Linked DNA regions of Homo sapiens: region 2 is linked to region 1. The links are contacts of gene promoters, found by promoter capture Hi-C in blood cells and fetal thymus (Javierre and others, 2016). All regions are on one chromosome and are shown on one strand. The core of a region is centred on a gene start or on the middle of the fragment in contact, and the rest is flanking DNA. Distances in the headings are between cores, read along the strand shown. Region 1 holds the start of SLC18A2 (solute carrier family 18 member A2). Region 2 overlaps PDZD8 (PDZ domain containing 8).

Region 1 (5,287 bases), core at 1,550-4,049:
AAGCCAGCAAAAAACTATGGTTGTGTCGGCAGGGAGCAGTGGCTCACACCTGTAATTCCAGGACTTTGGGAAGCTGAGGCAGGTGGATCACCTGAGGTCAGGAGTTCGAGACCAGGCTGGCCAACATGGAGAAACCCTCTCTCTACTAAAAATACAAAAATTAGCTGGGCGTGGTGGCACCCACCTGTAATCCCAGCTCCTTTGGAGGCTGAGAAAGGAGGATCGCTTGAACCTGGGAGGTGGAAGTTGCAGTGAGCAAAGATTGCACCACTGCACTCCAGCCTGGGTGACAGAGTGAGACTCTGTCTCAAACAAACAAAACAACAATAACAACAACAAAACTATGGTTGTGTCAAATGCCAGAAGAGGTCCAGAGGGTGACAGGTCTACCCCAAAACAGGAGCCCTGTGCCATATGTCTATAACGACATTGGAGCAAGTTCACTTTACTTAGCTCACTAGAAAGAACCATGCCCCCAACGGCCCTGAGAACTGTCTCCTCTCAAAAGGCAGCTGCTGTGCTGAACTGACTGGTCCCAGAGATTCTGTCATTTGTGGGTTTCTTCCACATTGTTCCTTCAAGGAATATTTCAGAAAAGCAAAATGTGGCCTGACGTTAAGAGAGTGCTGACCTGGAGTCAACCAGTGCTTCTAAGAAAGAGAGGCTCAAAAGACTTTCAAATGAATGAATCAAGGAAACAGAAAACTACACTTCATTATGTGTCTTAGAAAAAAATTAACCTGCAGGAAGTAATAACTTGGAAATTCTGCAACAGGCCCACTTCATCCTTCTATTATGAGTGGGAATCTGTAATTTTTCCTACAACTTGTAAGATTTAAGAATTCCTAAGGCTTTCACAAGGAAAAAGCAAAACTGAAACAGGCCAGGCACGGTGGCTCAGGCCTGTAATCCCAGCATTTTGGGAGGTCGAGGCGGGTAGATCACCTGAGGTCAGGAGTTCAAGACCAGCCTGGCCAACATGGCAAAATCCTGTCTCTAATAAAAATACAAAAATTAGCCAGCTTTGGTGGGGCATGCCGGTAACCCAGCTACTCGGGAGGCTAATGCAGGAGAATCACTTGAACCCGGGAGGTGGAGGTTGCAGTGAGCCAAGACTGTGCCACTGCCCTCCAGCCTGGGCAACAGAGTGAGACTCCATTTCAAAAAAACAAACAAAAACCAAAATAAAAAGCAACAACAAAAAATACAAATTAAATTGTGAAACATATAATCGAAGCTGTGAGCACATGTGTCCAATGGAGCATTCGAGCCGAAGCAGAACTAATGCCGTTGGTACTGAACAGGGATGAGCTCCACGGCTCTGATAACTCCTCGAGATGAAACCTATCAGATGCTCTGAAAACTGCTGTGAGAAAACCTGCAAATGGAGAGAAAGGAAACAGCTCCCACCACTTACAGTCTAAATGAGTCGTGATTTTTTTTTCATTCATTAAAAACTGGGATTTTTTTTTTTAAGGAAATGCATGCCAAATACTTCTCTGTTAATGGGCCTAATTAAGGGACCTGGATTTCGATTATTTAATTTTTCAAAATTCCACTATAGGAAAAATAATAGAACCAAGATTGTTCAAATTGTTCTTGCAATGGTTCCTGAAATATTTCCATCTCAAGTCATTCACTAATACAGTATATCTAAATGTCTTGTTTTTGGAGTAAGGGATCGAAACTTGCTCTTTTAGGTACTACACCAAATTACTAACCTGCCTTTTCGAGTAGCCCAATAATTATTCTAACACGTAATTTTGAACTTTAGGAATTTCTCTTTTGGAACAGAAATCTTTTTCATCGCAGTGAAAGCAGGCAAGAGGATGCGGGAAATTATCAGGGGGAAACATAAGTTCTGGGTCTTATCGGATGTCACAGTTTTTGACCCGAGCATCAGGAAAGCGAAGCCACACAACGCGGCTCCTCCTAGCCCCGGCGCGGCAGCCTGGAGGGGATGTCTTTTTTGCAAAGCGAGTTCTCCAACTTTCCCGGGCCTTGGCGGAGCTCCGGGACCGCGCAGGGGTAAGTGGAGTGCCGGGGAAGGGGCGCTGGGGCTGGGGTGCCGGGGCAGGGGTGCCCTGTCCGCACGTACCCACGACAGTGAGCAGCATGTTGTCCAGCAGCAGCGCCAGGAACACGATGAACAGGATGAGCTTCCGCGAGCGGCGGCTCTCCTGCAGCCAGCGGACCAGCGCCAGCTCGCTCAGGGCCATGGCTCCGGGGCTCCGCTGCGGGCGCGGTGCGCGGTGAGGACCCAAGGCGGCCGTGGACCCCCCATTCTCCCGTCCCCCAGGCCGCGGAAGGGCGGGTCAGGGAGCCGCGCGCACCGGCATCCGGGGACACCCCCGGGCGCCCCAGCCTCGGCTCACCTGCCTCGAGCGCGTCCCCACGAGAGCCCGCGCTCCCTGGAAAGAGCGCCCGCGAGCGCCGTCGGGGACCCAATCTGGAGACCCAACCTAGAACCCCCAGGACGCTGCCCTGATCCCCGCCGCCCCCAACTGTGCCACCTCCCAAACTGCACGCTCGGCCCCGTGCACCTTGCGCCCTGCGCCCTGCGCCCCGGCTGCCCCGGGGTCCCCGCAGCCCCGCCCGCGTAGCTCTGGGGGCCTCCCTGCCTCCCTGCCTCCCCCGGGCCCGCTCCCCTCCGGCACCGCGCCCTGCGAGCAGGGAACCGGGGCCGTGTTACCTCGGGGTCGCTTGCGATGCCTGCCCGGGTCCTCCGTGCCCGCGCCAACGCCCGCACCGCAGTGGGCTCCGTCAGTCCGGGCGGCTCCGGGTCGCAGTCTCCGCCCCAGCGCCCCGCCGCCGCCGCTCAGTTTACCCCGTCCGGCTCTGACGTCACGGCCGGAGGGAGCGGGGGCGGGGGGCTGGGGCGCCCCGGCCTCCGCCCGCCCGCGCCGTCGCTGCGCAGGAGGGGCTGCCGCCTCCCTGTCCCCGCCTCGGCCGCGGCCGCGCCTCTTCCCCGGACCCAGCGCGTGGCCGAGTGCCTTGGGGACCCAGGCCTGGGGAAGAGGCAGGGGCGCAGAGGGAAAGAGGTCAGAGAGCCTGGACGAAGAGTGAAGGGCCAGGGACCAAGGCGAGGAGGCACGGACCAGGGCTTTCTTGTGGCTCCAAGTGGTGGCTCGAGCTGCTTTGAATAAATCACGTGGCTCTTTGAGCCTCAGTGTCCCTGAAATGGGCCGTGAGGACGGGAATGATGGCCGCGGGGTGAGATCGCCAGGGGTGACAGGTGCTGGGAGCCAGGGACAGGCTTCCCTTTCCTGAAGAAGCCACCCTTTGCACCCACCATCCCCTCCCCTCTCCGACCTCTGCAGCCCGATGCGGGGTGCCACTCGGAGGAGCCTTTGAGCCTTGGGCATCCTCAAGCTGGTGACTTGGAAACGGGGGGGGGAAGGGGACACTTTTCAGTGTCGCCCTATGGTGGGAGTTGGGGAGGTGAGGGTCCCAGGTCTCAGAAAGTGGGAGCAGTGGGTTTGGGCCTCTGGGGCCACCTGAGCAGGGGACCCTGGAGGCTAGGTGAGTACACCTGGCCTCAGAGAAAGGGCTAGGGGGCGGGCTGTGGGCGGGGCAGCAGGCCTAGGCCCTGTGTCCTGTACTCTCTCCCCACCATGCTGTGCCTGGGCGTCTGGGTGAGAGGTGGTTCCTAGAGCCAGGGGCCTGCGTGTGGCTGGTGCAGAGCTGTCATCCTCACTGCTAAGGGCTAAGAGCCTGCCTTTGATTTCCAGGTCCCTTTTATAAGCAAAGGAGAAACAAACAGATGCCCTCTGACATCGCTGGAGCTCTGCAGGCCCTCCGAGGGGACCGTGGGAGCAAGAGCTGTTTTCTTGAAAAGCTACCTAGAATAAATGTTACCCTGTCACAGTCTCTTAGCAGAAGAGTGGGCTTGTTTTATTAATGTTAGCTTGTTGACAGCAGGAGGCCACTGAGAACAGCAGTGTGATGTGTGGCTGCCCCCGCTCTCTCCACCTCCCTACTCCCTTGCAGAGACCCCCTGTGCTTCTCATTGCTACCCCATGTGTGAGAAGAGATGGTTGAATAGGTAAGTAGGTCAGGAACATGGGTCTCCAGGATGTCACAGGATGTGCACAACTTAAACATTAAACAGGGAGGACAGAAGGAAAACCACTTAGGAGGAGGAAGCAGATGGCAGAGAGCCGTTTAAGATGGCAGGAGGGTATCACTCAGGGAGTGCCCCAGAGTGCTTGCTCTGGAGTTTCAGAACCCAAGGATGCAGACTCTACCCCAGGGACCACATGGGGACAGAGAGGCATTATGGTAAAGGGTGCCTGCCAGGATGCCCAGGTCCCAGTCTGCTACTTCCTTGACTGGTGGCCTTGGGCTGGTTATGTATCCTCTTTGTGGCTTAGTTTCGCCATCTCTGGAATGGGGATACTCACTGGACCTACTGCAGCGTGGTTGTGAGAATTCCAGGGGAATGCATAGGCAGCTCTTAGCACAGTGCCTGGCACAAAGTGAGAGCTCCGTAAGTGCCGGCCCCTCATTCATGCGCTGAATATGTGTTGAGCTCTTACTACGTGCCAGGCACTATGGTTAATGCTGGGGAGACAGTAAAGCCTAGACAAATCCCTGCTGACATTCTGACCTGATAGCAGCATCATAGCAGTGAACACTGGAAGCCACACCAAACTCCAGCCCAGCCAGCTGGATGTAGATGGCTCCAGGGACAATGCCAGCCCGGCGTTCCCGCCTCCGGATCACTGTCACCACCCCTAGAGCACTATGGCCTATAACAGACTTTTTGTTGAAACCCCCTAAAAAATGTTTAACAATATGTTTGCCTTACACATTTTCAAGTTGGCATCTAAAATGAGTTTTTTAATCATATATTTAAATAGGGTATATTGTATTTATTGACCTTTATGTATAAAATTATTATCTCTCTCTTTTAAATATACCCAAAGGAATTTGTATAAGAATACAAAACTGCCATGTTATACTTAAGAATATAAACAAGTATCCCTTTAACAGTCAAAATATTTACATTGTGTTCTTTACCCCTTTTAAGTATGTTTCCATTCCGTTTTCCAACAGAATTGTATCCTACCCTAATGCTTTTATTGTTTAAATTCTGTATTCATCACCTATCTATTATGTGAACCACAATAAATATGTGAATATGCATTAGCTTTTTAAAATTTTCTACACGTGGACATAAAGATGGCAACAACAGACCCTGGTGGGGACTACTAAAGGGGAAAGGGAGGGAGGGGGGAAAAGGTTGAAAAACTAACTCTTGGGTACTATGCTCACTACCAGGGGG
Region 2 (5,287 bases), core at 1,772-4,271, 110 kb before region 1:
TTTTGCCTCTGAGGAAACCGAGTCTCAGATTTTGGTCAAGGTCAGAAGTTTGCTCAAGGTTATATTGCTGGGAAGTGACACAATAGGATTCCAAGCCAAGCTGTGTGGCTCCAGAGTCTGTTCTTAACCTCTATTTTATATTGTCTATAAATGTAAGCTTTCTTTTCTCAAGCAACTCACAATTTAGTTGGGAGGAGGGGATCTTGCAGGAAAGCTAGAAAGATGGAGACAGATACATAAATAGTATGGCTAGTAGTAAAACAGAGCATATATAAAGTGTTTTTAGAACACAGGAGAGGAAACAATTACCAGATGGTAGAGGAGAGGGACGGGTTACAGACAGGAGGCGACTGAAGTAGAACTTCAGCAGTGAAAAGCTTACCACATAGGACTAGGCTACGTATGGCATCAGAGTGTTTAGCAGGTACAGTTTCTCAGGAGAAATAATACAGCAGTACTAACCTTGGTGAATATAGAGGAGCCTTGTGTATGAATTGTCCTTTTAATATATCAATTGAAGTATCTAAGTAAAATTGAAAATTTGAAATTTAGATTCATAATTTACCAACACAGAAAATGAGGAGTATTTGGAACCATTGTACTTTGTTTTCTTTCTGGCTTACACTTAGTTTTGTATTAGCGTGCCATAGTTTGCATGATAATGTATGCCATAAAAGTTACAACTAATAGAGGTTTTGAAAATTACACTTTTAATGCAGCAGGGGGAACTCATTATTTGAAGGAGTACTGGCTCTGAAGCATAATAAATGAAGAAACATTTTTAAAATGATCACTCACTGAGTTATCTAGTTTATATATTTGGTGTAGGAGAATTTGAAGAGAACATTTATGTTTGCTAGTTCCTAATGTGATAGAGCCAAAACTTTCCGACTGAAAGCATAAACCATATAGGACTTTCAATTGCCTGTTTATAGCTGCTCGTTCTACTCTCTCCCTTAGAAAGGATATAGTGTTGTGTGTATTCCTGAGCCTGAAATATGACTGCAGTATCTGAGTATCTAACTTTGACTGGTCTCTCTATTCTCAAATAAGCCTATTTGTTAAACAGGTGAGATGGTATTTGAGGTAACTTACAGAATAGTTTAGCTTTAGACATAGGGAGATGGGGTAGGAGCATATTGTGGGTAGGAGAAATCACAAAGGAACAGAATGAGGGCCTTGTAGGATCTTCAGAGATTCAGTGAGACAGCTAGTTTGAAATAGTAATACTTTGGCATAAAGAAGAGAAGAAAACCAGAATTTGTGTGCTTATAACAAGCCACGAACTTGATTAGGTGTATCACATGTGTGAACTCTAAATCTTAGTAATAGTCCTGTGAGGTAGCTTTTTATTTACAACAACAAAAGGTAGAGGCTTTGTTTTTGGTTTAAGAAAGTACTCTTTTTAAGAAAAGGAAACAATTTCAGAAATCCCAACATTCTCCGCAATCAATGAAAACCTAAATCAGGCCAATGAGGAACACAGAACAACAGAAGAGACATTTTAACAGTAAATGAATGGAGGGAATGGGGATAGAACTAATTGGTTGTGAGAAGAGGAGGAATAAAAGGTTACCTCCAGGTTTCCAGGTGTCTTTGAAATTGGTGGTGCCAGTAAGAGAAAGCAGGAGAGAAGGGCGCAAGTTTGAAGAAAGGGTGTTTAACTCATTTTTAGGTACCAATGTATGAACTGTGATAAAAGCAGTGACAGCAAGTGATGTTGCTCAGGGAAGTTAGAGAAAGGAAACAGGAAGACAGAAACCACATTGTTTTAGTATACAGAACAATTTTTCTAATTCTCCATTTTGGAATACTTCACTTAAAAGTCAAGAAAATAGTTCAGTAAATGCCACTCCCCGCCCCCTCACCCCCCTCCCTCATCTTGCTTTGTCTGTAGCCAGTAATTAACTTAGGGCCACTCTTGTTCATCTTGCCACACACCCCTCCCCCGATTATTTTGAACAAAATTTATGTATAACATCAATATGTCTTTTTTTAAAAAAGTATAATCCCACTATCAAACCTTTAAAAAGTAATAATTCTTTAGCATCTAGCTTAGGATCATTTTTTTATATCCCCAAATTAGAAAACATCAAGGTGTAGATTCTCAGAAATGACTTTCATAGTGTTCCTTATAATAAACTAGCATGGATTTTTATTAGAACAGAGAGAGATTCGTTGATCTTTTAATCACGTGGACTTGTTTACCCCTTCCTTCTGAAATATTGTGACTAATATGGGTCTTTCTTGGAGGACTGGAATAATTCGAGAAAGTTTGAGAGCCATCAAACTGCACTGGGAAGGTCATTACCATTATTATTGATTTCCACTCCCTCTAGGACTCCAAGTCAGTATTAATAGAATTGCTGAACAATTTTATTGAGTTCTTTATATTTTACTCAGCATCATAACCTAGACAAAATAGTTTGGAAGACAAGAGGTACTGTTTTAGATATCTAAAGTAAATTTAATAGAGAGCCCATGATTGACACTAGAATTTACTTTCTGTAAACCATTAAAAGTGAGATACTGTGACTTTATAGAAATTATACAGCTTTATAATGCAGATTAGGAAATGTGTTTTAGTAAAAGTGGCATTGTATTAGGACTTATTACAACCCCACTCCTGTGGCTCCACCCAGAAGCAATTTGGCGCACAGGAGGACAGCTTCAGCCCCCTATGAGTTCATCTCTGCCCCAACCAATCAGCAGCAAGCCCCTGTTAGCTGGCCACCCCACTCCTTTCCCCAAACTGCCTTTGAAAAACCCTTCCCCTACGAGCTTTGAATGAAGTGATTTGAGTACAAATTTTATCTCCCCTGTGGTGTGGCCAGCCTTGTGTCTATTAAACTCTTCCTCTATGACAATGCCACCATGGTCTGTCTTTATGCTGTGGGCAGGAAGAACCCCTCAGGTGGTTACAATACCTTGTAGTTTAAGAGATGCTGGCATATGAATTAGTTTTACTTCACCCTCTCATAGGTAACAAAAAGCATGGATTATTCCCCTCCTCCCTTTTTGAACAAGAAATTGAAGTTTAAGGAGATAAAAGGCTTTTCCAATATCACCTGCTTTATCAGTGATGAAGTTGGGACAACAATCTATATGTATATATGATTCTAAGTTTTGTGTTCCTTTGTCTTCTTTTTTGTGTTCTTTTTTGTCTCCTTGACAAATCCTCATCTAACCTTTGCCTAAATATTTCTAGAGATAGAGGCTTGCTACTACATACTGAGAAAGCCATGTCCTTTTTTCACTAGCTCTAATTGTCACAAAGTTTTCTCGTATTGATCTGAAAACTCTAGCAGATTTATCACTTGAGCAAGAACATGAACGCTCAACTGCAGTTAACAGTAGATCTAGACCTCTGCATATTTTTACATTGGGTTGTAGTAAAACCTTTCTCTCTAAAGATCCCAGTGTTTGCAAACAGTTTTACTGCTGCCATGTGATGGAGATGTCACCAGCTGGTATTCAGCATGCTTATAGGGCAAACTTGAAGAGACATCTTAAAGTAAGACATATTTTAGATGTTACAAAAGGTTCTGTCAGATCTACACAGGAGAAGAAGGCTTGGCTTCTCTTGTAAGTATAAATTTAAATATGTATTTTAAGTGTTAGTAAAATAATGCACATTTAAAAATTAAACACGCCAAGTATAGTGGCTCACTCCTAGAATCCCAACACTTTGGGAGGCCGAAGCAGGAGGATTGCTTGGACCCAGGAATTCAAGACCAGCCTGAGCAATATAGCAAGACCTCACCTCTACAAAAAATAACTGGGTGTGGTAGCCTGCATCTGTAGTGCCAGCTACTTGGGATGCTGAGGCAGAAGGATTGCTTGAGTCCAGGAGGTCAAGGCTGTAGTGAGCCATGATCACACCACTGCATTCCAGCCTGGGCAACAGAGTAAGACCCTGTCTTCAAAAAAAGAAAAAAACATGTTTTTTCTTTAAATTTTTATTAAAATATAACTCACCACCTGAAAAGTGTACTAATCAGAAAATTCAGCTCCATGAATGTCTACAAAGTGAACAAACTCATGAAATCAGCATTCAAAACAAGCAACAGAGTGTTACCAGCAACCAAGAAGCTCCTCATATGCTACCTAGTCACTACCTTCCTCTCCTCTGCCTTAAAGTAACTACTATCCTGACTTCTAACACTATTTTTAGATTTTTTTGTGTTTGTTTTTTGCCTGATTTTGAACTTTGTATAAATTGAATCATACTGTATGTACTCATTTTTGTTGTCTTTAGCTCAAGAGTAGTTTGTGAGATTAATCCATGTTGTTGCATATAGATGTAGTTTGTTCATTATATTTGCTGTGGAGTATTCCACTGTGTGAATGTACTTCAGTCTGTCCATTTTTGTTGATGGGTAGTGTTGTTATGAATATTCTTATATATGCCTTTTGGTGAACATTTGTGCACATTTCTCTTGGGTATATCGAGGAGTAGGATTGCAGAGTCATAGGGTGGATCTCTACTGGCTTCGTAGATATTACTACAATTTTCAAAGTAGTTTTAATAGTCGAAACCAGCAGTTTCACATCCTCTCCAACATTTGGCATTGTTTGTTCTTTCATTTTACTTAATGCATGTAACTTAAAAATCAAAACAGAAGAACTTATGATGAAAATCAGCAATTGCCTCCCTAAACCCTTTACTTTCCTGCCCTAAGCTAGACTGTTCAGAAGCAATCATTTGTAACTATATATTTCTTTTTTTTTTTTTTTCACTTTGTCACCCAGGCTGGAGTGCAGTGGTGCAATCTCTGCTTACTGCAAGCTCTGCCTCCCAGGTTCATGCCATTCTCCTGCCTCAGCCTCCTGAGTAGCAGGGACTCCAGGCACCTGCCACCACACCCAGCTAATTTTTTTGTATTTTTAGTAGAGACGGGGTTTCACCATGTTAGCCAGGATGGTCTCGATCTCCTGACTTTGTGATCCGCCTGCCTCGGCCTCCCAAAGTGCTGGGATTACAGGCGTGAGCCACCGCGCCCGGCCTATGTATTTCTATTTTTAACAACTTTTAAGAGGCATTGATGAAGAGCACAGATTCTGGGGCCAAGCGTGGTGGCTCCCACCTGTAATCCTAGCACTTTGGGAGGCCGAAGCAGGTGGATCATGAGGTCAGGAGTTCGAGACCAGCCTGGCCTACACAGTGAAACCTCGTCTCTACTAAAAATACAAAAATTAACCGAACGTGGTAGTGGGCACCCTGTAATCCCAGCTACTTGGGAGGCTGAGGCAGGAGAATAGCTTGAATCCGGGAGGCAGAAGTTGC

What was found. Contacts are between HindIII fragments. The CHiCAGO score rates a contact against its expected background, and 5 or more counts as called.
Region 2: a contact is called between a fragment that was not itself captured here and the fragment with the promoter of SLC18A2 in region 1, in 1 of 17 cell types (neutrophils). The highest score is 10.2, in neutrophils.

What each region holds. Positions count from the first base shown.
Region 1 is chr10:117,238,626-117,243,912 of GRCh38, reverse strand. It overlaps SLC18A2 (solute carrier family 18 member A2), which reads right to left and starts at 2,799. Exons shown (of 16, transcript NM_003054.6): 1 at 2,693-2,799; 2 at 2,099-2,234. The coding sequence starts at 2,219. SLC18A2-AS1 (SLC18A2 antisense RNA 1) reads left to right here and starts at 1,916. Exons shown (of 3, transcript NR_184310.1): 1 at 1,916-2,028; 2 at 2,130-2,252; 3 at 3,732-5,148. The HindIII fragment of the contact is 8,499 bases long and covers 1-5,287 here.
Region 2 is chr10:117,350,342-117,355,628 of GRCh38, reverse strand. The region is part of intron 1 of PDZD8 (PDZ domain containing 8); the gene reads left to right. Among named protein-coding and RNA genes, the nearest start is that of PDZD8, 22 kb to the left of the region's middle. The HindIII fragment of the contact is 5,284 bases long and covers 380-5,287 here.